7 separate regions of the Homo sapiens genome follow, and all the other regions are linked to region 6. Evidence: promoter capture Hi-C in 16 types of primary human blood cells and fetal thymus (Javierre and others, 2016). All regions are on one chromosome and are shown on one strand. Each heading gives the region's core, a stretch centred on a gene start or on the middle of the fragment in contact. The rest is flanking DNA. Distances are from core to core; before and after follow the strand shown. Region 1 overlaps PLOD2 (procollagen-lysine,2-oxoglutarate 5-dioxygenase 2). Region 2 overlaps PLOD2 (procollagen-lysine,2-oxoglutarate 5-dioxygenase 2). Region 3 overlaps PLOD2 (procollagen-lysine,2-oxoglutarate 5-dioxygenase 2). Region 4 overlaps PLSCR4 (phospholipid scramblase 4). Region 5 overlaps PLOD2 (procollagen-lysine,2-oxoglutarate 5-dioxygenase 2). Region 6 holds the start of PLSCR5-AS1 (PLSCR5 antisense RNA 1). Region 7 overlaps PLOD2 (procollagen-lysine,2-oxoglutarate 5-dioxygenase 2).

Region 1 (3,280 bases), core at 130-2,629, 510 kb after region 6:
TTTCAATTACTTTTTCCTTCTTTGTTACTCTTTTTAAGAAATATGATTGAAAATTAGCAATATACTTACTTAAGAAAAGATGTTGGGAAAGAAGATCCTTATTTTATTTTTATTAACTACAGGTTTGTTGAATGAGCTTTCTTGTGTTATATGTCATACTAAGCCCAAAATACATAATTCTGTGGTAATTTAAAAATAAATAATTATATAGGTTTCTCTCTCTCACACACACTCTCTCTGTCTTTAGAAAGATCATTGCTCCTCTTGTAACTCGTCATGGAAAGCTGTGGTCCAATTTCTGGGGAGCATTGAGTCCTGATGGATACTATGCACGATCTGAAGATTATGTGGATATTGTTCAAGGGAATAGAGTGTAAGTTACTTGGTTTAATATTTTAATGTGAAATACCATAATCTAAAGATGTAGTCTTGTTAGTATTACTTGAAATTTTTTTTGCATTCATCTCTTTTCTTTATAGTTAATGGGAATTTGAGAACCCAAGACCACTTGGAATCCTGAAATACTAGTATAAAACTAATATCTTAAAAAAATGTTTTTAAAGTCCCAAATCTTCAAAGGAACAAGCTCATTGCTGTGGGGAATACTAAGAGATAATATATGTTTACCATACTCACATTATGGTTGATAGAAGAGTAATACTCTTTATTTAAAAGCTTGGAAAGGGGATTTAGTTTACTAACTTTTTAATGGTTATAATTAAGGGTTGTTTTGATAGGTTTTAAAATTTATAATTAAGCCAACAGTAACACTAACAGCCAGAACATTCCAGTATTCCTGATTGCATGAGTTTTTTTGTGTGAAATAGCTATTATTCTGCTTTAAATACAAGTTTTTTTTACCAATATTAGATTTTCACTTCTAGAGATTGAAAAGAATATATTTGCTGAAAAGTGTGTGCATGATTTATATTTATTTCAGAGACAATGGTTGATTACTAAAAATAATCACAATTGAAATAGTTTTGCTAAGGTAATATTGGAGAAGAATGTCATTCTTTTTTTCATACATATGATGGACCAGAGTGACTAAGACATTACATGCTTTGCCTTAGTTCTCAAACATGTCAGCCTGATTAAAAAGGGGCAGTATACTCTCAGGACTAAAAGGATGTGCCCTTACATTTAGAAAAAAAAAGGCACACGTTTCTGTTCAAACAGTTGAGTGGTAAAAAGATGTGTTGCTTGTGGAAATAGTAATTGGTGTGGAAAGCTTCAATCTGAATGATGTAAATACAATAAAGGTTTTTGTTAGCTGCAATTAAAATGCACAGTGGAGGAGAAAAGACTATTAAGATCGTATTCTGTTGTTTCTGTGCAGTTGTATTGACTCTGGGTGAGTTGTATAGACAATATACCTGATTGTATCTTTGGGCACATCACAAATGAGGGTTTGTGAAAGTAGAATGGAAAATTTGTTTCAAGTTGCTTTAGGCATTGGTGATTTTCTGTCCAACCTCCTGTCATTCTTGTCTAAAGTATAAGGAAAAAAATATGGCAGAAGCTTTTGATCTGGAATACACTTCATGTCCAAAAGCTACACGAAGGAGCAACTGTGTGTGTGTGTGTATGTGTGTGTGTATAAGTTGAAACACTGAATAATTCCCCAGAGATTAATTTCTGAATTTAGCTGACACGTTGTATACAGTAATTCCCCTTTATCTATGGTTTTGCTTTCCATGGTTTCAAGTCTACTGTGGATTGAAAATACGAAGATATGTTGAGATAGAGAAAGTGTAAACATTCATGTAACTTTTATTACAGCATATTGTTATAGTTGTTCTATTATTGTTGTTAGTCTTACTGTACTTTATGTATAAATTAAACTTTATTATAAGTATATATGTGTAGGAAAAAACGTAGTGTATGTGTAGCGTTTGTTACTATCTGCTTTCAAGCATCCACTGGGGTCATGGAATGTATCACCCTCACATAAGGCGGGGACTGCTGTACTCCTTAAGGCATTTTTCTTTGAGGCTAGTCTAGTAAGACATAATATCATATTTCCGTTAATATCTAACTGCATTTCTTGGTCAAGATCTTGCCTTGATGTTCTCTAAAAGAAAGGCGCACAGTCTTAGGGGCAAAACTTGTTTTGCAGTTTTTATGAAATCAGTCATGTTCAGAGTGAGAATATAGATGTGGGAAAGGATGCAACGTTCATGTGCTCCCAGCTGTATTTCTTCATGTTTTCCTTTTTCTATAAAATATTTAAGATGGCTTAATGAATGGTAAGAGAATATAATTTTGGAGAATTTTAGGCTATATTCAGTGGTATTTTGGTAAATGTGTAACAACTGGCTTTTGGAGGTGGAGGATTCCCTGATTTAAAGTGCTTGCCCATTTGTTTGGTGTAAATACTTCTACCATGGCTGATTTCAAGTTTCCAATGTGAAATTACTGAACATGGACTTGGCAGAAAAAGTTAACTTTGGGGAGCCAGTATGAGCTGGGTCTAGTGCACCACTGGTTGTATGTTATGATTCATGCTATCAAATTCTTTAATTTTAAATAGAAACACCGTCTATACAATAGATTATAATAGTCTAATTGTAACAACTGATTGAGATATGATAGCTATAATACAAATGCCAAACAGATACCAACCCAAAATTGAAATGTATCCAAAGGGGCAGTGGTTTATCTCCTAAATCTCATTAAATATAGTGTATACAATGTAATCTTATATATATATCATTGAATATATTTGTATGTTGATTCAATAATTTATGTATACAAAATCTAAACACAAAGCATTTATTTTAAAAAGGTAAAAATGAAACTTAAAATTGTTTGTATTTGTGGTATATAAGAATGTCTTCTCTTTACTTTCAGAGGAGTATGGAATGTCCCATATATGGCTAATGTGTACTTAATTAAAGGAAAGACACTCCGATCAGAGATGAATGAAAGGAACTATTTTGTTCGTGATAAACTGGATCCTGATATGGCTCTTTGCCGAAATGCTAGAGAAATGGTAAGATATGCAGTGATGGCTTGCTTGAATGTTCTTATAAGATGGCTTGCTTTACCAGTTGGTGTGTCACTGTGTTTTGATGCCCTTTGTCTTGCTAATTTGTAAGTACTAGCCAATTTTTTTGGTTCTGTGTTAAAAAATTTGGGAGTAATTTTGGAGATAATTTAACATTTACTTATAGAAATGGTATGAAAAATGTTAGTTTTTGTGCTCGGGCTAATTCATAGGCAACCGAGTTGGATTTCAGTAATAAAGATGTATTTGTTACAAATCAGCTTTGCTCTT
Region 2 (3,516 bases), core at 1,012-3,511, 460 kb after region 6:
GTTCTTAATGTTGGCATGTATAAAATTTTTATTTGAAAAGAATGATAAAGATATATCATGGTTTGGTTTGAAGTATCTATAAAGGATGGGGATGGTCTCGGTGCACCTTGGTCTTTCACATATCTATTATCTCTGGAAGTCTTGATCTATCCTTCTACATTTGGTATCTAGTTAGTATTGGACCTTATGGTTCTAGAAGAGTTTATTTTTAACTTCATGACTCCTATCCAGGACCATTTGTCTTACAGCCTTTCTGTAAATAACTGGCGATACTTGCCCTCTCCATCCCACTGCACATACTGCTATGGTGACCAACTCATTCCAGTTTGCCTAGGACTTTTCCAGTTTTAAAACTGAAAGCCCTGTATTTCTGGAATCTCCTCAGCCCTGGGCATACTGGGATGGTGAGTCATTCTGCATACTACCCTCCACTTTTCAGCACTTCTCTTAATTTGTGGTTTGTCTGTTCATTGTCCAGAGTGGGCTGTGGAAGCCCAGGCATCCATGTGAAAGCTAGTGTGTGTGAAGATGCCCTCTATGTAGCATTAGAGGTTGGAAGTGACTTTTTTCTTTAAGCATACCATTGCCCCTCTTTTTCTACAAAAATGGTAGGAAATCATTGGATGTCTCTTGACACATCCTTTTTAGGTTTTTTTTTTCTTGTTGAAATTGTGACGTGAATTACTCTTGAGGAATTTTTGTCTTGAATTTTTTTCAACAGTTCTGCAAAATAAAATTAATTCTCTTCAACAATTCCACAAAATAAAATTAGACTTCGTGCCTTCAGTTCGTCATAGTTTTTGGTGACTCAGTACTTAACAAAGCAACAAAATTGTGTGCAATGAAACCTAGGAAAACCAAGTTTTTTAGTAACTGTGAATCCCGAGTTGTCTTAGATTGGTTACCACTTAACTGCAGGATCCTGGATAAGTCTTGTTTTCTCTTTAGATTATGGTTTCCTCCTTCATGAAAGAAGTGGGCTTTGCTAGACTGACCCTGAGGTCATAATTCACATTAAAGGAAATGACTTTCAGTCAGTGGAAGAGCAGGGTATGATTACTTTATGTACCAAATACTTATTTTCTGGAATCCATTTGGAGTCATTTTTATATCTCTCTAGCTTCGCCTCTGAGTACAGAACACAGCATAATGCACTATCCCCATAGTACCTCTTTCAGATAAGACTTTCTGACTGTAGCTAGGATAATATGTCGGACATCCCCAAGACCACCTGCGGGTTCAGTGATTCACCAGGAGGACCTACAGGATTCAGCATATGGTTGTACTCATGTCTATGACTTATTATTGTGAAAGGATACAAAGCAAAATCAGCAATGAGAAAAAACACATGGGTGAGGTCCAGGGAAACCAGGAATAAGCTTCTAACAGTTCTTTTCCAGTGAAGTCACACAAGATCTGCTTAATTCTCCAAGCAACTAACTGGTTGTGACAACATGTGTGAAATGTTTACCTACCATGGAAGCTCATTAGAGATTCAGTGCCCATAACTTTTCTGGAGAATGGTCACATAGGCAGCCTCTGTACCAAAATTTCAAGCACCCAGAAGGAAGGCAGGTGTTCAGCATAAACCGCATTGTTTGTATAATTTAGCCACAGTGAGCCATCTTATCTAGGAATGATGGGAACCCTTCCCATTGGAAGACCATCTGGAAACCATATGGAATCCAACTTTTCAGATGCCTGCCAAGGACCAACCTTACAAGCAGATCTTTCTAAGGATAGAAGTCTTAAGTTGCTATCTCTTTTCTGAACATAATAAAACTCAATGATTGCTTCAGCCCTTAACCTGTTGTCACCAGGGGAGGCCACATGACATTGAGGAATAACTCTGAAGTTCTACTTCTGGCCCTACTAGTAATTTGTTAGGTGACTTTGGCTAAGTCGATTACTTTACTGGAGTTTAACCACCTGTGAATTTGAGATGATTATGCTAACTACATAGGGATTTTGTTAAATTATTTCATTCACACCTACATGCAAGACATATGATATTACTTGCCCCTGAGTCCACTCATTCTGAAATGTTTTTTAAGAACCTACTGTGTGCTTAATATTGTGATAAGCTCTGGAGGTCTAATTGTGAGCAAAAGAATGTTCTCTGCCTTTCTGTAACTTACAGTCTCATTGGAGAGAGAGACTTTAATCTCACATAATTTGAGATTATTCATAATTTGAGATTATGCAAATTAATATGTAATTACAATTTGTGGTGAGTGCCCTGAAAGAAAGGTAGAAAGTGCAGTGAAAACATGGGTACTGGCCTACTCTAGTAGGTCAGAGAGGGTCTCTCTAAGGAAATAGCATATGTGTAAGAATCTCAGGTTTACCTAGGCAGTGGCCACATCAAGATGTCAGGGAGGAATATTAGATAATGGTCTTGAAAAGGCTCTTCTCTTTGAATGGGAGGGTGCAGGCATTATTAGAAAATAAAAATACAGGCCAATGTGGTTGGAGAAGAGAGAACAAAGTGGAGAGAGAAAGTGGATGAGATTGGAGAGGAGAGAAGTAACCTAGGACCACATTGTGGTAATGGAGTTTCTCTACTATCCTAAGAGGGTATTTACCAATGAAGTGACATGGTCAGATATCTAACTGTTTTGAAATGATCACTCTAGCTGCTTTGTAAACAGAGGTTTAGAGTGTACAAAGTTGGCCTAAGAGACGATTGCAGAAACCTGAGCTAGTGCTGATTATAACTTGAGTTAGAGTTATTATAGCTTGCTGGGAGATGGAGAGGAATGTAAAGATTTGAGAAGGCGTATCTAGAGTTACTTGCTAAACTGTTTGAATAAACAGCTTCACGACTATTTTTCCATAATTTTTAAAAACAATCTGGATAGCATCTCTGGTAGAGAAAGGGATGGGAGTTATAACTCGCTGAGTTTTGCACATCACCTACAGTCTATCTTGCACATGCATCCTTTGAATATATGTGTGAGATGCTGCCTAACACATATGTAGGAGTTTGTGTCGACTGCTTTATATATACTAACTCATTTTACTCTCATGGAAATACTGTCAGGTAGATGCTATTACAGACATATTACAGTTGAGACGCAGAGTTTAAGTAACTGACCAAGTCAAAACCAAGAAGAAATAATAGAGCTGGGATTTAAGCTTTACTTTGCCTTCAGATCCATATGGCCAACTATATGGATAAGTAGCAAACTTATGACCCTTAGGCCAATTCTGGCCCTTGGCTGTTTTTGCACAGCCAGCCAGACAACTACAAATGTTTTTTACATTTTTAAAAGGTTGTAAAAAAATAAGGAAAAAATCAAATTGTATTAGACAGTGTATGTGGCCCATAAGGCCTGAAATATTTACTATTTGACCTTTTGCAGAAGAAGTTTCTCAACATCTCTATTATGCTTTTACTACGAAAACATTTTTCTTTAGTAGAAAGTTGAGAAACAGTAATCTTTACAGATAAAAGACATGTCTGGTCATAAAATCAGTTAGTTGTAGAATGAGAACAGTGTACTCACAGTTACT
Region 3 (3,181 bases), core at 321-2,820, 480 kb after region 6:
GGATTAAGGAAAAGATTCCATGAGATAGGCCATGGAAAGAGAGGAGTGAAGGGTGAATGAAAGATTTTCAACCTAGGTGACTATGTGGTTGATGTTGTCACAGAAGTAGGGAACACAGAAGGACAAAAAGGAAAAACACTTAGAAAATCTCAATCATCTATTGAGATAGAACACTGACATGTCTGGCAGGGGACTCAGTATGACCACATCAGGTAGAATCTTATGGTTTTTTCAGGACCCAGGCATACTTACCACAGTTATATGTGGAAAATTTTATTTTCTTCACATGTAGATCGACTCAATTTCTGTGAGAATATTTTTATGACCTGTGTATCGGGGGAACCACCCCCAATATTTCAACGTAGGTTCTTTCCTATTTCCCTAAGTGTTGGCCGGTCTGAGAAATAAAGGGAAAGAGTACAAAAGAGAGAAATTTTAAAGCTGGGTGTCCGGGGGAGACATCACATGTTGGCAGGTTCCGTGCTGCCCCCCAAGCCGCAAAACCAGCAAGTTTTTTTGTTTTGTTTTGTTTTCTATATTCATTTTATTAATTCATCCCCCCCAAGTTTTCTACAGAATCCTGGAATTCTTCTCAGTGTAGTCAATACATTGATAGTTTGTCGATTTTAATGAAGACATCCCTCTCAGAGCCTGTGCTGTTCCGCAGTTGGGATTGATGCGTCTCTAGGCCTGCAGGGACTTCCCTTCACCATCATATGGGAATCCTCTGTGACTCTACCCTGTGTGGATTCTTCTGTGCCCTGTTTTTCATGTCTTCCTCTTTCTTAGTTTATTCCCTTAATTTGGTGGAGCACGTTCTCCAGTAGCTACCTCTACTTTCCTTTTCCCCACTCTTCGTACCAAATTTTGCAGATTGGGTTCTCCAGAAAGTAGAATCTTAGGTGGAAATTAGTGTGTGGGAGGCTTATTAGGAATGCTTGTTGGATCAATGCTTATGATTATGCAGTTTGGTTGGATTCATCTGTGTTCTTCTACTGATTTTTCCTGGGGTCACTTTTGTGGCTGCAGTAATCTGGCTGCTCCACTGAGAGTATGTCTGGTTGTTAGCTGGGACTGTTGGCTGGATACTTTTGCTTATCTACAGGTCATCTCTTCGAGGATAATTTGGGTTTCTTTTGCTGTATTAGTCCATTTTCACGCTGCTATAAGAAATACCTGAGACGTACTTGGTTTTCAGGGCACTACATTGCCTTGAAAACCAGCAAGTTTTTATTAGTGATTTTCAAAGGGGAGGCAGTGTATGAATAGGGTGTGGGTCACAGAGGCACACAGAGGCAATAAAATATCACAAGGCAAATGGGGGCAAAGCGAGATCACAGGACCGGGGCGAAATTAAAATTGCTAATGAAATTTCGGGTATGCATTGTCATTGATAACGTCTTATCAGGAGACAGGGTTTGAGAGCAGACAACTGGTCTGACTAAAATTTACTAGGCAGGAATTTCCTCGTCCTAATAGGCCTGGGAGTGCTACCAGAGACTGGGGCTATTTCATCCCTTATCTGCAACCGTGTAAGACAGACATTCCTAGAGCGGCCATTTTAGAGACCTACCCCTAGGAAAGCATTTTCTTTCTCAGGGCTGTTCCTTACTGAGAAAAAGAATTCAGCGATATTTCTCCTATTCGCTTTTGTAAGAAGAGAAATATGGCTCTGTTCCGCCCGGCTCTCAGGCAGTCAGACCTGATGGTTACCTCCCTTGTTCCCTGAACATCGCTGTTATCCTGTTCTTTTTTCAAGGTGCCCAGATTTCATATTGTTTAAACACACATGATTTACTAACGATTTGCACAGTTAATGCAATCATCACAGGGTCCTAAGGCTACGCACATCCTCAGCTTACGAAGATGACGGGATTAAGAGATTAAAGTAAAGACAGGCATAGGAAATCACAAGAGTATTGATTAGGGAAGTGATAAATGTCCATGAAATCTTCATAATTTATGTTCAGAGATTGCAGTAAAGACAGGCATAAGAAATTATAAAAGTATTAATTTGGGGAACTAATAAATGTCCATGAAATCTTCACAATTTATGTTCTTCTGCCATGGCTTCAGCCGGTCCCTCCATTTGGGGTCCCTGACTTCCCGCAACACCTGTGTGCATTTTTTTAAATTTGACAATTTGACTTTTTACAGCCAAAATAAATTTAAGTAGGAAACCTTCCTTGCCCTTTGAGAAGTTTTAAGTAAGTTCAAATAACTTTTCTAAAGTATTTAAACACAGAAATAGCAGTGCTACTCGAATGAGATAGGAAAGGTTTCAGCAACGTGAAATTTTTCTTCAAAGGCAATTATGTGATAACTTTTGTCTTAACTTTTTGCTTTAAAATAATTGTGTTTTGTTATAAAGATAATACAGGCTTATAAAACGCTAAATTATAAAAGTTGCCATAACTCTTTTTCAAACAACTGACATTTATTAATAGTTTGAGCTATACTGTTTATATAATCTGTATCCATCATTAGGGTTTCAAAGACAAAAAATATTCACTCACATTCCAAAAGTGCATTTATAACTTTTTTTAATTTTTAAATTTTATTATTATTTTACTTCAAGTTCTGGGATATATGTGCAGAACGTGCAGGTTTGTTACATAGGTATACATGTGCCATGGTGGTTTGCCGCACCTATTACCCCATCATCTAGAGTTTTGTTTTTTTTTTTTTTTGAGACCAAGTCTCACTCTGTCACCAGGCTGGAGTGCAGTGGCATGATCTCAGCTCACTGCAACCTCCACCTCTCGGGTTCAAGCAATTCTCCTGCCTTAGCCTCCCAAGTAGCTGGGATTACAGGCGCACATCACCACGCACAGCTAATTTTTGTATTTTTAGTAGAGATGGGTTTTCACTATGTTGGCCAGGATGGTCTTGATCTCTTGACCTCATGATCCGCCCGCCTTGACCTCCCAAAGTGCTGGGATTGCAGGCATGAGCCACTGTGCCCGGCCTCATCTAGGTTTTAAGCCCTGCATGAATTAGGTATTTGTCCTAATGCTCTCCCTCTCCTTGCCCCCCGCCCACCGACAAACTCCACTGTGTGATGTTCCCCTCTCTGTGTCCATGTATTCTCATTGTTCAGCTCCCACTTATGAGTGAGAACACGTGGTGTTTGGTTTTCTGTTTCTGTGTTAGTTTGCTGAGAATTATGGGATTCCACCTT
Region 4 (3,390 bases), core at 436-2,935, 350 kb after region 6:
GTATTATGATTCCTACAGCAGATAGGTTTTTATCTGAATGGGGTAAAATTTCATAGATCTGTAACTGAGGGGGTGTGTGTTGGGGCCAGGAGGGGATATATTAAAATCATCTGGGAAATGGCTTCCATTTTCTTTCCTTATCCATAGAAGCAATGATCCTTTTAAGCTTTATCATGAGACTGCAACAATTCGGTAACATCTTCATGCTTCACTTCTAACTCTTAGTTCTCTTGCTATTCTCTCACATCTGCAGGTACTTCATCCAATGAAGTCTTGAACCACGCAAAATCATCCAGGAGGGTTGGAATCAACTTCTTCCAAGCTCCTGTTAATATTTATATTTTGACTTCCTCCCATGAATAACAAAAGTTCTTAGTGGTATCTAAAATGGTGAATCCTTTTTAGAAAGTTTTCAATTTACGTTGCCTAGATTCATCAGAGGAATCTAGGCCTAGCTTTTGGCCTGTCTTTGCTTTCAGCATGCCTTCCTCATTAAGCTTAATCTTTTCCAGCTTTTTGACTTAAAGTGAGAGATGCACGAACCTTCTTTTCACTTGAATATTTAGAGGCATTTGTAGGCTTATTAATTGGCCTAATTTCAATATTGTTTTGTCTCAGGGAATAGGGAGGTCCTAGAATAAGGGGAGAGATGGGAGAATAGTTGCTCTGTGGAGCAGTCACAACAACACTTACTAAGTTCACCATCTTATATAGGCATGGTTCATGGGGTCCCAAAACAATTATAATAGTAACATCAAAGATCACTGATCATAGATCACCATAACAGATTGTTATGAAAAAGTCTGAAATATTGTGAGAATTACCAAAATTTGACAAAGAGACAAACTGAGAAGTTGCTGTTCTGCAAAATGGCACTGATAGACTCCTTGATACAAGGATGCCACAAACCCTCAATTTGTTTAAAAAAATGGAGTATCTGTGAATCACAGTATAGCAAAGCACAGTAAAACAAGGCATGCATGTACATAATGAGGTATCTTGAGAATGGGACCCAAGTAAACATGAAATTCATGTTCCATTATGTTTTAAACATATAGCCTGAAGATAATTTTATACAATATTTTTGATAATGTTGTGTATGAAACGTTTACGTACGTTGAACCATCAGAAAGCAAAGGTATCAGTATCTCAATCACCCATGTGGACAATCTGTGGTTATTTGACGTCACCATCATTCCTGACTCTAAATTCATTATGCTACTGATAAGTAATCATTTTCTTACATTACTCACAAATAAGTGCTTAACAGTAAAAAATAGGATGTATCATTAGTACAGTGAAAAGAGAATGCGTTCAGGGTAACTAAGCAGCACAGTAGTATCTCCAGAATGCCTGTGTCGGAAAGCCACCAATAAGCAATGGCAGGCTTTCATTCTTTACCTACAATGCTGTATTTTGATTACAAGGTTATCATTCACTGAATTTTATTATTTTAAGTGAGAAGAAATATCAGAAGTAGCCAAGTGACCAGCAAGTGTTTTCTCTACAAATGAGGAAGCATTCTGATGGATGACTTTTCAGAATGTTTCCTCTGGAGTCCGCTGTCTCATTAACAATGGTTTTTGTCTTAGAAGTCTCTGTTGATTTTACAGACTGACACAATTTCTTATTCTGTGATGAATGAATGCTCTTAGAGTCCTTCAGTAAACCCATCACATATTTTCACCATGTCATCTATAGGCACTTTGCAGTTTTAACAGTGTCCTCATCATCTTTCACTTGTGACATCATGTTGGTGCTGAAAGTTTTGGATTTTTGAGCATTTCAGATTTTGGACTTTTGGATTAGGGTTGCTTAGTCTATACAGCATTTTATGTGCCCGAACTCTGCATGAATATTATAATCTTTTCTTAAAGTTAGAGATTGGTTCATCCTTTTTGTTCATTTCTTTGTTTTCAAGAATAAATGACAACACAGTTTTTGTTTTGCTTTCTATTTTTTTGTTTTTCAAGAGTTTTGGAGCATAGTCAGGATCATGATGATAAGAAAGAGATGTATATATGTAACAAACCTGCATGTTGTGCACATGTACCCTAAAACTTAAAGTATAATAAAAAAAAAGATGTATACAGTTGGTAGAGCATATTGTTAGCAGGAGTTTGAGAAGAGGGGTTTCAGTCAATTGAGAGATCCCCATGGAAGAAGCAGGATGAAATACAGATAACAGAACTAATTCTTACAAATTTTTTTTCTGAAAATGGTCCAAGTGTCAATTAGGAACTTTCCAGGTTTGATTTGAAACCCCCACCACAGAATTTGTTTTTCCTCCCTGAGAGATTGATGGGTTACTGTTTTGGGATTAAAGCCTTTGGGGGCTTTCTCTGGTGGAGAAATAGTTCAGACAAAAGGTAGTGGATCCATTAGATGGCTAATATAAAAGTGGACAATGTATTTTCCAGTTGCATGAGTGTTTACCATAAAGGCAGACATCTTGGGGCATAGGGTTCTTTATTTTGGGATCCTCTTGGGCCCTGTAGCCTTTACAACTGTAAAGACATAAACCTGTTTGCCTTTCGTAAGGAATTTTCCCACTGTAGCCATTCTAAGTTACTTTTGCTAAGGTTCTCCCATTCGTCTCGAAAAGCACAGGTTCTGGGTCTCTGGTTTTTATACATGAAGTTGGCTAGAATTCCAGAGGGCGAAGCTCTAGCAACCTTTGACCAGATAAACCCATGATTCTATGTCTTTTATTAACCTTTCCTACCTACTAACTGAGTTGAGTTTATGTCTGACCCAGTCAAATACCTGAGGCCTCCCTACTGGGCCCAGTCCTGTTGTTGGCATGACTTTGAAACCCAGTGTAGATCAAAAATGCTCAAACTCAGCTCAAATCAGAAGTTCATGAAGCTTAGATTCAAAAATCTCACCCATGACCCCAGTTGCTGCGAAAGAGCAGTGAGTACACTGGGCATGCTGGGTACCTTAACTTGGTCACTCAGTGCTCCTGGGATCACTGGAAGTTTGCTTCAAGATCTGACTTCTCATGTGAAACTCTTAAAAGAAAAACTTTAGGCAAATTCAGCAGAGTTTATCTGAGCGAAAAACGATTCATGAATCAGGCAGCCCTCAGAACCAGAAGAGTTTCAGAGAGCTCCACCGAGCAACATGGGCAGGCAGTATTCATAAACAGAGGAAAGAAGTGACGTACATAAATCAGTTGATTGGATCCAGCCTGGTATTTGCTTTATTTGGTCATGGTGTGATGAGGCATTTGCCTTCAACGGACATGGTCTGATCAGTTGACAGCCCGTGATTGGCTGAAGCTCCACTACCATCATTGGCTGAGACTCAGCTACTTGTTACAAGAATACAACCTCAAATCAAGTTGCAGTCTGCTATTTACAGAGGCAGCTTTAGGCCCAATTTAAT
Region 5 (3,407 bases), core at 441-2,940, 440 kb after region 6:
GTGATTCCTTAATGTTATTTAATACCTATCCAAATTCACCTTTGCCTCTTTTTCTCAAGTATGTCTTTTTATAGTTGGTTTGTTTGATCCGGATCCATAAATTTATCTTCCTAAACACCTTCCAAGCTGTCACTTACCTTAGTCTACACTGCAGGACTCTGGTAGCTTCAGGGTCAAATCTAGCCTAAATATTGTTTTTCAAAAGCCTCAAATTAAGTTCTATGTTTCAGGAAATTTTACTTAAAAATCAGAATCTTTCTTGTTTTGGAGGAGAAAAAAGGAAAAGAAGGCCTGGAAACCCTGGGTTTTCCTTCCCGTATGGCAACAACAGCTGGCTGACTCTGAGAAGTCCTCTCCTTGGATGGGGTGCTTGTGCACTCCAGTCACCATAGCAGGTGCCTGGCCTCTTCACTGATGTGTTTGCAGCCCCCTCTCTGTATACATCACTGAATTAGATAATTATCATTGTTTCTGAAATTATTTTTCTTGTCTCATCTTTCTTAAGTCCAGTGACTCTTCGCATGCTATGACTTTCAGCCTATGGTCCAGTGGTTTTGTCCCCCCTGGAATATTTGGTAACGTCTAGAGACATTTTGTTTTGAGCAGTGGGTGCTACTTGCATCCTGTCGGTTGAGTCCAGGGACCCTGCTAAAGTGTCCTGCATTACACAGCATGACCCCATCACTCTCTCCCAGCCCCACCCCAAGAAAGAATTATCTGGCCCCAAATGTCAATAGTGCTGAAGTTGGGAAACTCTGCTACAGTCTGATGGCACACTTCTAATTTCACTGCCCCGCTTCTAGTGTCTTCTCTATTTCCAAATGTATTTATTATCATTTCCCAATTTGCACTCTGTTCATACTGGATTCCTCACTATCCAGTCAAGAGATCATGCTTTTACACATCTTTTGGAGGAGGGGGGATTATATTTCCAGGTTCCTTGACTGTGAAAATACTGTCTGTCATTTTTTAAGGCCTGAACATAGATATATTAAGTCTTATATTCTAGTGATTTTTTTGTAGATTTTTATTGTTCCTTCAATGTTGAACTCCTACAGTATTCTCTGCAAATATATAATCTGTGATTTAAATTAGTATTTAGTATGTTATTCTCAGTCTTTTCATATGAACTAACTTTACATTCTTAGTTGGATTTTAACCTGCAAGAGGATAGAGATCGTATCTCTTGAATTGCTGTGCCTTAGAACTCCCAACCTCGGAAGCTTCTCTGCCTATAGGCCTTACAGAGGGATAGTCCATTAACCCATGGCTTGCCCTAGTCACAACTAACAAGATAAGCAGGAACCCTATGTTGGTCAGGGTTCTATTCAAACGAAGAACCCATTTTAGATATCTTGAGCAAAAACAGATTTAACAAAAGTAATTACAAGCTTATACAATTACTGGAAAGCCTGGAAGAATGGGCTTTAGCAAAACTTTCAGCAGTGACTTCTAGAATAGCAGAAATAGCTGACCAAACTAGGAGGCTACTACCTCTGTCCCAGCGGGGAATCAGGAGCCCACCATTGGAAGTATTGAATTCAGAAATAGGCTTCCATAAATGTAACCCAGGGATGGAGAAGCTGTCTCTGTTGATTCCTTATGCCCATGAGGCAGTGACTATACCAACAATGCAGAATTCAGCCACAGCCTTTGCTGCTGTCCATATGTCTGTCTGTCTCTCTGCCTCTCTCTCTCTTTCTCTCCCTCTCCGTCCACCCGCCCTCCTCCCCAGTTCCCACAAAGTGTGAGATTGACCCTAGAACACTGGTGTAGGGTAAACCGTATCCTTCTGACCATGCTTACCAATGGAAATGGCCAAAAGTGATAGGGATAGGACCATCTGTTTTTCAAATCTCACAGGAATACATCTTAGAGGAGGGGTATAATTTACATCCAAATGTTTAGCTCCAAAGAACTTGGAGAAATGCACCTTTAATATTTGATTTTCTCATGACTTTTTCAGTAATTGTTCTTCCTGAAGCTTGGCAAAGCATTAAATTATTTTAAATTTTTATGGATGTTTTTGACAATAGGGACCCAAGTAAGGGCTTAGCATTACATGAAATACATGCTTTTTAACGTGGAGCTCTATTATAAAGTTCTAAGCATGTTGAATACTTTGTCAGCTTTTAAGAAGACCAATTTCTAATAAAGTCATGGGAAAAAAAGAAACTTATGAAATAGAGGCAACTAAGTAATAGAAATTTATGTCCCCTCACCATCCTTATTGTTTTGAGGCCAGTGGATTGTAACTTTTATGGAAGAGACGGCATGGTACAACTTAATCCTAATTACAATTTTATGATATTTGTTTGACTTATTCATTCATTTCTTATTTACTAGTGCTCTTATTTTATACAGCACCCTATAACTTTCAGTAAATTCTTAGCTGACTAGTGTCACTTTTCTGAGATAAAAGTGGGGCTTACTCACAGCTTCTGGATTTTGATAATGTCAGTAATAAAATTCTGGCTCATTAAGGAAGGAAGGATTTAATTTGACTCAGCCTTTTAAAAATTCATGATAACAAAAGTACAAAAGAAAACTTTGTGGACTACCATAACTGTACTTTCTAATTGTAAATTTATGTTTCACAATTTTTATTTGAAAGTTTGGTTTTTATGTAATTGTTTTTTACTTTTGTAGTTTCTTTGCTCGTAACAGTAACTATAGTTAAGCTTATGGCTGAAACTCCTGCTGAACAAATCTACAGAGGAGTATCTTGCATTCAAATTAGAATGTTGATCTTCCTCACATTATTTGGAGTTGGGACACCCCAACTACACATGGTATTTATTTATTTTAAAATTTCATTTGTTTTGCTCATTGTGATAATTTCAGGTGGTAGGTAGATGTACCTTAGTGTTCAAATTAACACATAGACAAAACTAGATTGGGAATGGCTGGATTAGATTAATACATGCCTATCTAGGTTTATTATGTCACCATAGCAGTTTTAGTTTTTGGTTTTGTATGTGTGTGTTTAAAATGATACAGCTAAAAACATTTGCTTTTATTTTGATGAAGACAAAAATATTTGGGGAATCTGGATTTGTTTTGGTGATATGCCTAGGATGTAGTCAGTTTAGCCCTTCAAATGACGTTTGTCATCTAAATTATTCTGAAAGCTCTAGTAAGAAATGACAGAGCTCCTATAAGAAATGTTGAAGCACCAGTAGAAATCAGTAAGAACTAGGATATGGTAGATCTAATGAAGATGGCATAACTTCGTTTAAGAGTTGTATTTTCGGTTACAATGACAATAAATGCTTGTAACTGAAAACAGAGATAGTTAAGAATAAATTTAAATTTGTCCATGAACACACTATCAATTAGTAAACAATGTAAAACACTGTGATAGTATTCATTTTTTTGTTTGTATATCTTCATGTATTTTCTTTATA
Region 6 (3,152 bases), core at 518-3,017:
TATATCTCTTTGATTAGAATAGTAAATGTGTTGCTATTTTAATGTGTGCAAGACTTTGAACATCAAAAATTTTTGGACACATAGCTTTGCCTTTTTAAGATAACCAATATTTCCTGATTTTGAAAATTAGCACTTCATTCTTGTTTCAGTATGTTTTATTTATGTAGAATCACAGGACACATGGCAATAAAGCCAATATATACAGTTTAGAATCACCTAAATTATGTATCTTCTTTCCTATGGGCCTTGAGATCACATATCCCAGTTTAGATCTCATTTCAGCAGCACGTTACATTAAAACAGCATTAACTCAAAAGCTGTGTTTCTAAGACTTGCTAAGTTAGTTTTGTAAAAAAAACAAAAAAAAAAAACAAAAAAAAACCTTATTCTCGTATTTGTATAAATTGAATATTTAAAAAATAGAAAGTTGTAAATTTGATCTGTAGCAATATAAACTATCTTAACAGGTTGTCCTGGACATACAACTTAGGTAGAGGAGACAGCCTAATTGAAAGTGTATATTTATTTTTCATCCATTCATACATAAATATCTCAGCAAGGGCATTTAGTTCTCAGGACTTCAGGAAACACTATGCACGTAGAATACAATGCAAATTTTGCAAACTGAGCTGTTCCAACTTCACCCTATCCCCAAAGGATTTGGCATGACTTTCCTACGAGTAATATGATTGAGGAGGACTTTAAACATAAGAGTTTTAGCATTCATGCTATAGAAATGTCCTAAGTAACCCTCTCTATTCTCTATCTTTTACTACCCTGAAAAAAGTGATAGTTTCTCTTGAATTACTTTCAGCATCAGGATGGGAAGCAGAATAAACAAACAAATAGCTGATAAAGTTGATTTGTGAACTCCTTCTAGCTGAGAAGGACTGATTGATGTCTAGTTGGTCTTAACTTCCTATATGGTACATTAACCAGGAGGATTTTTTTAATGTAAAAATAGGATTTAGGATTTGTTAGAAAGTATTGACCTAATAAATGTCTGAGTATAATATAAAAATGTGATTTAACAATGGCCAATAATATTTAAATGTTTTAATAATTATAAAATTTTAGCAACTGAAATTTGAAAGTTTACAAATTATGCCTAGAAATTAATTTAATTCCTTCTGAAATATTTTTTCAAACATATCTTCTTTTACATTTTTAAGATGGAGAATTCAGGTTTAAAATCTGGACCTCAAGTAAAGAAATCGCCTTCATGCTTAGATGATACAATTGAACTATGTACCTGCTGCCATCTTGTGGTGGCTGAGCCTTAATTATTTATCCTGATATTCTCCATCTGCATACAAAAAAGAAAAAGAATTATGATGGACTAGAAAACTGTCAAAAAAGCAAAGTTTCTAAAAAGTAAACTGAAAAGCTAAATTTACAAACCTATGCTTATATGATGGAATGAATAACATGGAATTGTCATTTTGAAGATGACAAATAAAATAATTCAAATCTCTCATGAAGTAAACACCCTCAGAAGTATAAAACCAACTTTTTTCACTGTCAAATTTAATACTCCTTATTTTCTTTCTAAAGGTGAAAACCATTAATGAAAAGCTTACAATTGGGAAGATTTCAAAGTACTGGTCAGGATTTGTAAATGATGTCTTCACAAATGCTGACAATTTCGGAATTCATGTTCCTGCAGATCTAGATGTAACAGTCAAAGCAGCAATGATCGGTGCCTGTTTTCTCTTTGTAAGTATGGGCTTTGAGAGCATGAGTGATTTGTTATTCTCCCTCTTGCTTGTTAATTACAATATAGCCTATCCCATTTACACAGTTTTTACCCCCAAAGAGTATATTTTATTCATAGAAGGATAGCTTAGGACCAATGTTCTTCAAAAATTAGAATTTAGAACCCTGCATTTCTGTTAGGCAGCCCCTCTTCAGTGATCTCATATCCCCTTTCTCAAAGATTGAAGTGTTATCACATCCTATTCATCATTTCTTTAAAACCTAGTTTCCCCTTGCTTTTACGTTCAATTTAGATTTTTGGCTTATTTTCACTTGAACTAAAAAATATGCAAACATAAATATCACATGATTTATCCTGGATAAAGTTCCAGACTGGTTCATTGCATAATAGTGAGCTAGATGATATTAAGAATGTTGCCTTCTCAGTGTGAACATAGACACATGAAATGATTTGATGAGTTAATAGGTACCAGTTGCCATTATTTCTAAGATACTATGTTCTTGTTATTACTTTCCAACTTACAATTATATTGAAAACCTTTTCTTCTTTGGTATATGGAGATTGGTGATAGAAGAACAGAAGTCAAATAATACCTGTATCAAAATGCTTGACCTATATCCTGTTCTTAGTTTTCCCTCTAATATTTACCTAATTTCCTACCATTTTCAATGCAGCCATAAAAACTTATGGAGTTTTTATTTGTTGATATATAAACACATGTATTTTCTATAAATACATGAAAAAGATGTGTATACACAGGCACACACATAAGTGATTAAAACAAACAGCATAAGAGTTGAGAGTAGGTTGCAGACATGATGCCTTTTCCCCTAATTATATTAGTGTGCATTTCCTAAAAACAAGGAATTTTTTTACACATCACAGTACTATTGTCAAAGTCAGGCACTAAACACTGATTCAATGCTATTATCTAATCTACAGACTTTATTCGGTTTGCACTGATTTGCATAATGATGTCCTTTCTGACAATAGAAAATCCAAGATCATGAAGTATGTCCATTTTGTCACATCTCATTTGTTTCTTTTCACCTGGAACTGTTCCTAAGGGGTGTGTGTGTGTGTATATGTGTGTGCATGAACATGTGCACATGCATGTGCATTTCCCTGAGTCTCATGACATTGGCATTTTTGTTTTTGTTTTATTTTTTGTTCTATTTTTTGAGATAGAGTCTCACTCTGTCACCCAGGCTGGAGTGCAGTGGCGCAATCTTGGCTCACCACAACCTCTGCCTCCCAGGTTCAAGCGATTCTCCTGCCTCAGCCTCCCGAGTAGCTGGGATTACAGGCATGTGCCACCATACCCGGCTAATTTTTTTGTATTTTTAGTAGAGATGGGGTTTCACTGTGTTAGCCAGGATGGTCTCGATCTTCTGACCTCGTGATCCACCCGCTTTGGCCTCCCAAAGTGCTGGGA
Region 7 (3,166 bases), core at 632-3,131, 490 kb after region 6:
TGACTAAAGGACATATCACAAGAAAAGGAGCACTAATCCTTAATCATTTAGAAAGACCTAGGTGTACTAAGAAATATTAAGTCTTCTTGGAAACATTTTCAGTTTGCACTATCACTGTTTCTGGCATTTCAAGCTATGTGATGCTCCTATTATGTTTTCTCTGATATTATCATATCTAGTTCATTTTGTTATTCTATTAGACAATAAAATATGAAGTTTTATTATAGATATTATATTTGGTATAATACAAAAACTCGAGAAAATTTGAATATGTAAACATTTAACACTAATACTTTATAATATTAGGTTAAAGTTAAATAAATTCAAATGAGTATGTCACGTATTCTTCTTATCCAGGCTGATGGGGAAAGAAGGCTGATTATTACAAACATTTTTTAACCTTTATAAAAGGTGGAAGGATTTTTTGGTATGATTTTTTGTAAGTTAGTTTTACTTATTATTTTGTTTAGTAATGGATGTTTATAATGATAGTGGTTTTGAGCCATAATATTGAACTAAACATTTAAGCAGTTTTTTCATTAAAAATGTATATAATCTATAAGTGGTGAAGTGATTATAGTATGTTGATGATACTAAAGTATAAAAAATGAGCTTATTTCCTACTTTCTCCAAATTTTATGCCATTGGAAAAAATATTAACAATTTTAAGTAATTTTAAAAATCATTTATACTGCCCTCCCATATGGTTTTAATTCATAGCTGTTTTCAGTTTTTATGTCTCCTCAGTATATATCTATGAACATTTATATTTTCCTTTGTTTTCATAGTAGTATATAAACAATTTTGTGTTTCTTAATTAACATTTTATTTAAAACATATTTAGGTATTTTAAATAATTATTTTCATACTTGGTCTGTATAAATCTAATATGAATCAATTTTTAGATAGAAACTGGTTTCTAATTTGAAGGTTTACTTTTTCTTGAAACCCATTTATTGTTAGTAATGTATAAGATGCATATTTTAATGTTCAGCCTTTTCTTTTAAATATCAAACAATATACATCTTAATTATGAATTTGGTAGCTTTTTAAAATTTTACTTTAAGTTCTTGGATACATGTGCTGAACGTGCAGGTTTGTTGTACATAGGTATGCATGTGCTGTGGTGGTTTGCTGCACCTGTCAATCCGTCATCTAGGTTTTTAACTCTGCATGCATTATGTATTTGTCCTAATGCCCTCCCTCCCCTTTCCCTCCACCCCTCAACAGGCTCCAGTGTGTGATGTTCCCCTCCCTGTGTCCACGAGTTCTCATTGTTCAGCTCCCACTTATGAGTGAGAACATGCAGTGTTTGTTTCCCGTTTCTGTGTTAGTTTGGTGAGGATGATGGTTTCCAGCTTCATCCTTGTCTCTGCAAAGGACATGAACTCATTCTTTTTCATGGCTGCATAGTATTTCATGGTGTATATATGCCACATTTTCTTTTTTTATTATTATTATTATTATTATTTTTTTTTTATTGATCATTCTTGGGTGTTTCTCGCAGAGGGGGATTTGGCAGGGTCATAGGACAATAGTGGAGGGAAGGTCAGCAGATAAACAAGTGAACAAAGGTCTCTGGTTTTCCTAGGCAGAGGACCCTGCGGCCTTCCGCAGTGTTTGTGTCCCTGGGTACTTAAGATTAGGGAGTGGTGATGACTCTTAACGAGCATGCTGCCTTCAAGCATCTGTTTAACAAAGCACATCTTGCACCGCCCTTAATCCATTTAACCCTGAGTGGACACAGCACATGTTTCAGAGAGCACAGGGTTGGGGATAAGGTCACAGATCAACAGGATCCCAAGGCAGAAGAATTTTTCTTAGTACAGAACAAAATGAAAAGTCTCCCATGTCTACTTCTATCCACACAGACCCGGCAACCATCAGATTTCTCAATTTTTTCCCCACCCTTCCCGCCTTTCTATTCCACAAAACCGCCATTGTCATCATGGCCCATCCCCAATGAGCCGCTGGGCACACCTCCCAGACGGGGTCGTGGCTGGGCAGAGGGGCTCCTCACTTCCCAGTAGGGGCGGCCCGGCAGAAGCGCCCCTCACCTCCCGGATGGGGCGGCTGGCCGGGCGGGGGGCTGACCCCCCACCTCCCTCCCGGACTGGGCGGCTGGCCGGGCGGGGGGCTGACCCCCCCACCTCCCTCCTGGACAGGGCGACTGGCCGGGCAGAGGGGCTCCTCACTTCCCAGTAGGGGCGGCCGGGCAGAGGAGCCCCTCACCTCCCGGACGGGGCGGCTGGCCGGGCGGGGGGCTGACCCCCCCACCTCCCTCCCGGCCGGGGCGGCTGGCCGGGCAGAGGGGTCCTCACTTCCCAGTAGGGGCGGCCGGGCAGAGGCGCCCCTCACCTCCTGGACGGGGCGGCTGGCCGACTCCCCCCCCCCACCTCCCTCCCGGACGGGGCAGCTGGCCGGGCAGAGGGGCTCCTCACTTCCCAGTAGGGGCGGCCGGGCAGAGGAGCCCCTCACCTCCCGGACGGGGTGGCTGGCTGGGCGGGGGGCTGACCCCCCCCACCTCCCTCCCGGACGGGGTGGCTTCCGGGCGGAGACGCTCCTCACTTCCCAGACAGGGTGGTTGCCGGACGGAGGGGCTCCTCACTTCTCAGACGGGGCGGTTGCCAGGCAGAGGGTTTCCTCACTTCTCAGACGGAGCGGCCGGGCAGAGACACTCCTCACCTCCCAGACAGGGTTGCGGCCCAGCAGAGGCGCTCCTCACATCCCAGACAGGGCGGTGGGGCAGAGGTGCTCCCCACATCTCAGACGATGGGCGGCCGGGCAGAGACGCTCCTCACTTCCTAGATGGGATGGCGGCGGGGAAGAGGCGCTCCTCGCTTCCTAGATGGGATGGCGGCCGGGCAGAGACGCTCCTCACTTTCCAGACTGGGCAGCCAGGCAGAGGGGCTCCTCATATCCCAGACGATGGGTGGCCAAGCAGAGACGCTCCTCACTTCCCAGACGGGGTGGCGGCCGGGCAGAGGCTGCAATCTCGGCTTTTTGGGAGGCCAAGGCAGGCAGCTGGGAGGTGGTTGTAGCGAGCCGAGATCACGCCACTGCACTCCAGCCTGGGCACCATTGAGCACTGAGTGAACGAGACTCCATCTGCAATCCCGGCACCTCGGGAGGCCGAGGCTGGCGGATCACTCGCAGTTAGGAGCTG

Evidence for each region. The method cuts DNA at HindIII sites, captures the fragments that hold promoters and counts their contacts. A CHiCAGO score of 5 or more calls a contact.
Region 1: a contact is called between a fragment that was not itself captured here and the fragment with the promoter of PLSCR5-AS1 in region 6, in 6 of 17 cell types (M2 macrophages, total B cells, naive B cells and 3 more). The highest score is 6.9, in M2 macrophages.
Region 2: a fragment that was not itself captured here is called in contact with the fragment with the promoter of PLSCR5-AS1 in region 6 in 2 of 17 cell types (total CD4 T cells and naive CD8 T cells); the score reaches 6.7 in total CD4 T cells.
Region 3: a contact is called between a fragment that was not itself captured here and the fragment with the promoter of PLSCR5-AS1 in region 6, in 2 of 17 cell types (non-activated CD4 T cells and neutrophils). The highest score is 7.3, in non-activated CD4 T cells.
Region 4: a contact is called between a fragment that was not itself captured here and the fragment with the promoter of PLSCR5-AS1 in region 6, in 13 of 17 cell types (monocytes, naive CD8 T cells, activated CD4 T cells and 10 more). The highest score is 14.0, in monocytes.
Region 5: a contact is called between a fragment that was not itself captured here and the fragment with the promoter of PLSCR5-AS1 in region 6, in 4 of 17 cell types (monocytes, total CD4 T cells, M0 macrophages and 1 more). The highest score is 6.7, in monocytes.
Region 7: a fragment that was not itself captured here is called in contact with the fragment with the promoter of PLSCR5-AS1 in region 6 in 2 of 17 cell types (neutrophils and M2 macrophages); the score reaches 7.4 in neutrophils.

Annotation. Positions count from the first base shown.
Region 1 is chr3:146,078,831-146,082,110 of GRCh38, reverse strand. PLOD2 (procollagen-lysine,2-oxoglutarate 5-dioxygenase 2) reads left to right here. Exons shown (of 20, transcript NM_182943.3): 12 at 248-373; 13 at 2,854-2,995. Among named protein-coding and RNA genes, the nearest start is that of LNCSRLR, 11 kb to the right of the region's middle. The HindIII fragment of the contact is 291 bases long and covers 1,234-1,524 here.
Region 2 is chr3:146,129,075-146,132,590 of GRCh38, reverse strand. The region is part of intron 1 of PLOD2 (procollagen-lysine,2-oxoglutarate 5-dioxygenase 2); the gene reads left to right. Among named protein-coding and RNA genes, the nearest start is that of PLOD2, 30 kb to the left of the region's middle. The HindIII fragment of the contact is 1,759 bases long and covers 1,382-3,140 here.
Region 3 is chr3:146,112,359-146,115,539 of GRCh38, reverse strand. The region is part of intron 3 of PLOD2 (procollagen-lysine,2-oxoglutarate 5-dioxygenase 2); the gene reads left to right. Among named protein-coding and RNA genes, the nearest start is that of LNCSRLR, 45 kb to the right of the region's middle. The HindIII fragment of the contact is 8,067 bases long and covers 1-3,181 here.
Region 4 is chr3:146,241,931-146,245,320 of GRCh38, reverse strand. All of the region lies in intron 1 of PLSCR4 (phospholipid scramblase 4), which reads left to right. Among named protein-coding and RNA genes, the nearest start is that of PLSCR4, 7.5 kb to the left of the region's middle. The HindIII fragment of the contact is 2,371 bases long and covers 500-2,870 here.
Region 5 is chr3:146,144,823-146,148,229 of GRCh38, reverse strand. All of the region lies in intron 1 of PLOD2 (procollagen-lysine,2-oxoglutarate 5-dioxygenase 2), which reads left to right. Among named protein-coding and RNA genes, the nearest start is that of PLOD2, 15 kb to the left of the region's middle. The HindIII fragment of the contact is 593 bases long and covers 1,394-1,986 here.
Region 6 is chr3:146,588,217-146,591,368 of GRCh38, reverse strand. PLSCR5-AS1 (PLSCR5 antisense RNA 1) reads right to left here and starts at 1,767. Exons shown (of 2, transcript NR_046698.1): 1 at 1,581-1,767; 2 at 1,044-1,306. It overlaps PLSCR5 (phospholipid scramblase family member 5), which reads left to right. Exons shown (of 8, transcript NM_001085420.2): 6 at 1,555-1,716. The HindIII fragment of the contact is 1,724 bases long and covers 1,578-3,152 here.
Region 7 is chr3:146,096,109-146,099,274 of GRCh38, reverse strand. The region is part of intron 7 of PLOD2 (procollagen-lysine,2-oxoglutarate 5-dioxygenase 2); the gene reads left to right. Among named protein-coding and RNA genes, the nearest start is that of LNCSRLR, 29 kb to the right of the region's middle. RefSeq lists an enhancer at 1,384-1,933. The HindIII fragment of the contact is 9,903 bases long and covers 1-3,166 here.